Linked DNA regions of Homo sapiens: region 2 is linked to region 1. The links are contacts of gene promoters, found by promoter capture Hi-C in blood cells and fetal thymus (Javierre and others, 2016). All regions are on one chromosome and are shown on one strand. Each heading gives the region's core, a stretch centred on a gene start or on the middle of the fragment in contact. The rest is flanking DNA. Distances are from core to core; before and after follow the strand shown. Region 1 holds the start of TFAM (transcription factor A, mitochondrial). Region 2 holds the start of LOC124902546 (a long non-coding RNA gene).

Region 1 (2,998 bases), core at 499-2,998:
CCAAGTAGCTGGGACTACAGGCACTGCGCCCCCATGCCCACCTCATTTTTGTATTTTTGGTAGAGACAGGATTTCCATGTTTCCCAGGCTGTTCTCGAACTCCTGGGCTCAAGCAATCCACCCATCTCGACCTCCCGAAGTGCTGGGATTACAGGTGTGAACCACCTCACCCAGCCTGATGTGAGCATTTTTTATTCTCGCCGAGAGGCTTTCTAGAGAGTCAACAAACATCCTACCTGGAAATGTTTTTTTTTTAGGAACCCAAGACAAGAAAGGATTTATCCTTTACAACCCACCATCCCCTTGGCAAGGTCGAGGTCTGAATCAAAGAACCAGAGTGGCTCTGAACTCCTATGATGAAAAGGTTTATCCTTTCTTATCTTGAAAGCTCTTGAAATTAGCAGTAAATTGCATAGAACTTTACAGTTCTACAGAACTTACAGTTTATGGATGCTTCCACAGAAGTTGCAACTTTATTAACAATTCCCTGAGCCAGAAAAAGGAGGAGCTAGGCAAGAGAAAATAATTCATCAGTGGTCCTCTAGACCAAAGGCAACAAGGCCCCAAATTCAGCTTTTTTATCCTCTTCCTAGGGTGCTTTCTACACTATACGTTATTTTTAAAATACCATTTACTAGTTCTCATTTATATTTAAAGCATTTCCATTTGGTATAAAATAGAACTTCCTATTTTACAGACATCAAATGATTGTTCCTGCAGTCACTGAATGCTTTAGCACTGCAATTCAACATTGGTATTTAACTGCTTAATGGCATTTTTATTACATGAGAAAAGGGTATATGCCCCAAAACTCCTTACCTGGGTTCTGAGCTTTAAATATGGGTAGTTGTTCTTTAGAAAATCGAAGGTAAGAACTTACAGGTTTCTTTGGACAACTTGCCAAGACAGATGAAAACCACCTCGGTAAATACACAAAACTACATATAAACAAAAAGAAAATAACCAGTGTCAGATGTTTAACTGTCAATATTCACATGTATATGAACACAGATCCCAAATAAGAAATGTCATCAAGATACTATGTATCCAACGCCTTCAACAAGAATGCTAGAGACTTATTAAAACCCTGTCCTAAACGGAGGGGAGCGTCTGCAGGACTGAAGTCTCAAAGCCCTTACCTCCTAGGAAGGGCAGGGAGTGAAGGAAAGCGTCTATACTCCAGCTCCTGGGCCCCGCCTCCTCAATGCCTAGATGATGGCCGGAGACTCGGCGCGAATTCGCAGAGGAGGCGGAAAGGATCCAAAGCTGGACAGTGAGGAGGGATGGGAGAAGCGAGTGGAGGGTAGCAAGAAGGTACGGCGTATTAAGAGAGTAAATAAAGGCCTGGTCTCAAGGCCACCGTCCCCTTGGCAAGGTCGCGGTCTGAATCAAAGAACCAGGGTGACTCTGAACTCCTAGGAGGGGCAGAAAGTGAAGGATAGGGTCTACATTCCAACCCCGGGACGTCCTGGGCCCTGCTGCCCCTAGGGCACAGGCAAGCGGGCCTACCTGAAGGGGGAGCGCAGTCGACTTCCACAGCCGGTGCACAGCTCTGCTCCAGACCTTCCCAGGGCACTCAGCACGCCCCACATGCTTCGGAGAAACGCCATCGCTCCGGTGGATGAGGCAGTGACCCGACCCCAATCTCGGAGAGCCTCCTGGCAATACACAACTCCAGCAATCACAACTGGAACCCGCGTGCGACCCTCCGGCGTGTGTTATCATGCCCGCCACTAGCGAGGCACTATGGGAAATCTGCTAACATCCGGTCGGTAGATGGGGGCGGGGCGGGGCGGAATTGGCGCAGGCGCGGGAGAGCGTACCCCGGTGGGCGGCCTTGCGGGGGAGGAATAAGAGCCGCGGAGATGAAGGGAAACCGCAATCCTCTAGCCTGCGGAGGGCTCTGGCTTCGAGGCGGCGCTGTTGAGCCACCTCTGTCCCCGGCCGCCCGGAGCAGTGGGTTCCTCTGCCGGGCCAGGAGGGTGATGGAGGGACCGCGGCGGCGGCCTCACCCCAACCCGGCGTTGGCCGGTGTCCGCCCGTGACGGTCACAAGGGCTGTACGTAACAGACAGTCCTGCATCCAGGACCCCGAGGTCCGATCGGCGGCTGCTGCGCGCCCAGCGGAGCGTCTCAGTTCAAGCCAGGGCTGGAGCTCGGAGTTCAGAAATAGTAACGGGAGAGGCGGGGATTCGCAAACCTAAAAATGCAGATTCCAAGGCCTTACCGCAGAGCTTAATTCCGTGTGTCTATGTGGGGCCCATTAATCTTCATTTTAGCGAGTTCCCCAGAATTTAACAAGTTCTAATGTCGGTGGTCTTGAGACCACATTTAAAGCAATATAGCTTTAGACTGTTTATTCTACCATCTACTGCAGTCTTTCAGTCTGGCCTCCAGCTTGCTTAATTTGAGCAGAGGAAACTGGCTAGTTGTCCACAGTCGCTAGTCTCAATTCTTCTAGTTCCAGTATTAACATTAACGTCTTGACTTGGGAATATTGCATTCCCTCGTTAAGATTCAGTTTCCCCCTCTGCAAACGAGGATGTTAGACTAAATCAGTTTTCCCAGCCAAAGCCCTGAGAACGTGTGACAAGTATGCCTTGAGACATTGATGTGTCAAAAATTGCTGTATAATTTTTTTATTTGTGTTATAGAAATACCATTTTCTGTATAGGCAATGGCATGAAAAAGATTAGGAAGACCTAAAGATACCTAAGGGTCCTTCCAGCCCTTAAATACCAGTTGTTTCAGAGCTAACCACCTTCTGAGACAGCCTTTCTTCTGTTGGATAGCCGTAATTGTTAGAAAATTCTTACCAGTGTCATATTGAGCTGACAGTCTATTTACCTTTCTGTAACTATGAAAACATTGGCTCTCTGGAAGTAGGACTAAGCCTACTTCTTCTTTTAAGCGGTAATAACCACTTCCCTTTTATAGACTCCCAGGGTTGAAAGGGACCTTCCAAGTCATCTGTTCAAACCTCCCATTCTGGCATGGAA
Region 2 (3,080 bases), core at 25-2,524, 2.0 Mb after region 1:
ACCCAGGCTGGAGTGCAGTGGCACGATCTTGGCTCACTGCAACCTCCACCTCCCAGGCTCATGCCATTCTCCCGCCTCAGCCTCCCGAGTAGCTGGGACTACAGGTGCCCGCCACCACGCCTGGCTAATTTTTGTATTTCTAGTGGAGACGGGGGATTTCACTGTGTTAGCCAGGATGGTCTTGATCTCCTGACCTCGTGATCTGCCCACCTCGGCCTTCCAAAGTGCTGGGATTATAGGTGTGAGCCACTGCATCCAGCCTAGTTAGTCTTCATTTTTGAAAGCTGTTTGCTGGAAACAGAAATCAAGGTTGACTTTTTTTTATTCTTACAGTACTTGAAAGATGTTACTCTACTGTCTTGCTTGCATTGTTCCAAGAAGAAATTTCCCGTAATCCTTATCTTTGTTTCTATGTAACATGTGCCCCAACACCCCTTATTACTTTAGAATTTTTTATCAATGGTTTTGAGTTATGCAATTATGGTATAACTTGATGTCATTTTCTTAATATTTCTTGTGTTTGAGATTTGTGAAGCTTCTTGAATATATGAATTTATATTTTTCATCACATTTCAAATTTTTTGGTCTTTATTACTTGTTTTCTTGTCCTCTCCCCTTGCCTCTCTGAGACTCCACTTTCAAGTATATTATTAGGCTGTTAGAAGTTGTCTCACAGCTCACCATTGATTTGTTCATGTTACTTTATTTTCATTTTTTAATGTTGTGATTGATTTTGGGTAGTTTCTCTAGAGCTGTGTTTCACTTTCATTCTGCAATGTGTAACATACTATATTAATACCATCTAATTCCATCTATCACATTGTAGTGTTCACCTCTACAAGTTTGATTTAGGTCTTTATTACAAGCTTTGTGTCTTTGATTAACTTTTTTAACAGCTTTTATGACAGCAGTAAAGTGTAAATTTAGCGGTTTTCTGTATAGAATTGTACAACCTTCACCATAACCGAAGTGTAGAACATTTTATTTATCCCTTTAAAAGAAACACTATATCCATTTGCAGTCCCTCCCCATACTCTCTCAACCTCTCATTCCCACCAATCCCCAGCCCTGGACAAGCACTATATAAATTTACTTTCTGTTGCTATAGATTTGTCAAATCTAGACATTTCACATAAATGAAATAATATATTATGTGGTCTTTTGTAATTAGCTTCTTTCACTTAGTATATTTTCAAGGTTCATATTTTAGCATGTAGTAACCATTATTTAGCATGTAATAAAGTTCTCTTTACTACTGATTAATACTTCATTGAATGAAAGTATGCATTTTCACTCACCAGCTAATGGGCCTTTGGGTTGTTTTTACCTTTCAGCTTTTGTGAATAATGCTGCTATAGAGGTTTGTGTACTTTTGTGTCCCCATGTTTTTATTTGTCTTGGATATATAACTAGGAATGAAATTGTGACTCATATGGTAACCCTACGTTCAAAGCCTATGCACCAGTTTACATTTCCATCAACATGAGAATTCCACTTTCTTTACATCCTTAGCACCACTTACCTTTTTCATTATAGTTCTGATATCTTTTTGAAGATATGGGATATAGTTACAATAACTGTTTTAATGTCCTTGCCTGTTGATTCTAACATTACTTCAGTTCTGATCAGCAATTGATTTTTCTCCTCATTATGTGTTTTTTTTTTTCTTTTTGCAAGCTTGGTAATTTTTCTTTGTATGACATATGTAAATTGCACCTTTGGTGAACATTTTTCTATTTCTATAAATACTGCTGAAGTTTGGTCTTGTCATCTGTCATGGTTTGTTAAGTTTGATCCATTTGGGTCTTACTTTTAAGAGTTAGATGGCACTACAGCACTGATCAGCTAGGACTAATTACTGCCTACTAAATAATTAGTAAACAACTATCAAATCAAGACTTTTTTGTGTGTACTCTGTCCAGTGTCCTACGGACTATGAAGTTTTCCAGCCTGGTTAGTGGAAATAGAGACTATTTCTGACCCTCTGTAATGTCCATATATATATATTTATATATATATATATATGTATTTTTTTTTTTTTGTGAGACGGAGTCTCGCACTGTCACCAGGGCTGTAGTGCTGTGGCGCAATTTCGGCTAACTGCAACCTCAGCCTCCCTGGTTCAAGCAATTCTCCTGCCTCAGCCTCCCGAATAGCTGGGATTACAAGCGCCCACCACCACGCCCAACTAATTTTTTTTGTACTTTTAGTAGAGACGGGGGTTTCACCATGTTGGCCAGGCTGGTCTCAAACTCCTGACCTCGTAATTCACCTGCCTCAGACTCACAAAGTGCTGGGATTACAGACGTGAGCCACCGCGACCGGCCATGTCCTGGTATCTTTAAAAATCTTTTAGCTAGTTTCTTGAGACACATACTGCTCAGTACTCAGCTGAATGAATACCAAGTTCTCTCTCAGCAGTTATCTTTCTCCTGTACTCTGCAAAGAACATTACCTACCTTGGTCTCCCCAGAATATCTGTTCTATTTTGCCAACGCAGGCAATCGGCTGGGCTCTGCTTGAGTTCACTCTCCTGCATCGCATCTATAAAATACTAATATCTTTGAAAGCAGCTCGCTTTTTGAGCGCAGATCATTTGCTTCCTGTATCTCCCGGATCACTATTCTTTACTGATTCCCAGCGTCTTAGAAACAGCCCCACTGTTTTTCGGGGTTTTGTTTTTTTTTTTCTACAGCAGTAGTGAATATTTTAAATAAAGTGTCAATGCTGTAAGTTTCCCTTAAAACGCAAACTCAAGGAAATGCTTTCCCTTTTTCGAGTAGAGAAAGAACTTCCACAGGCGCGCGGTCGAGCTCAAGCCCACTTATAGTCTCTGGCACCGCGTAAGGACTAGCGCGCAGGCGCAGAGCCCGTGCGCGCCTAGCCATAACCGCGCTTGCGCCAAGCAGCGAGGCCCGCCAACGAGCGAATCCGCGCCTGCCAATTAGAGCGCACAATGGTCCTTGATGCCCGCCCACTAACCTCTGCAGCCAATCGCCTGCCCCGGCGCGAAGTCGACTGTGACTTCAAAGTAATCTTAGGGATTGTGGGAAGGCAGCTGAACTCGGCGCCTGGAAAGA

What was found. Contacts are between HindIII fragments. The CHiCAGO score rates a contact against its expected background, and 5 or more counts as called.
Region 2: a fragment that was not itself captured here is called in contact with the fragment with the promoter of TFAM in region 1 in 1 of 17 cell types (non-activated CD4 T cells); the score reaches 6.6 in non-activated CD4 T cells.

Annotation. Positions count from the first base shown.
Region 1 is chr10:58,384,160-58,387,157 of GRCh38, reverse strand. TFAM (transcription factor A, mitochondrial) reads right to left here and starts at 1,748. Exons shown (of 7, transcript NM_003201.3): 1 at 1,510-1,748; 2 at 820-938. The coding sequence starts at 1,610. RefSeq lists enhancers at 1,348-2,004, 2,198-2,297 and a silencer at 1,688-2,067. The HindIII fragment of the contact is 8,486 bases long and covers 1-2,998 here.
Region 2 is chr10:56,361,236-56,364,315 of GRCh38, reverse strand. LOC124902546 (a long non-coding RNA gene) reads right to left here and starts at 2,857. Exons shown (of 2, transcript XR_007062372.1): 1 at 2,460-2,857; 2 at 1-291. ZWINT (ZW10 interacting kinetochore protein) reads left to right here and starts at 3,057. Exons shown (of 9, transcript NM_007057.4): 1 at 3,057-3,080. The coding sequence starts at 3,080. RefSeq lists a silencer at 2,790-2,999 and an enhancer at 2,608-3,080. The HindIII fragment of the contact is 811 bases long and covers 869-1,679 here.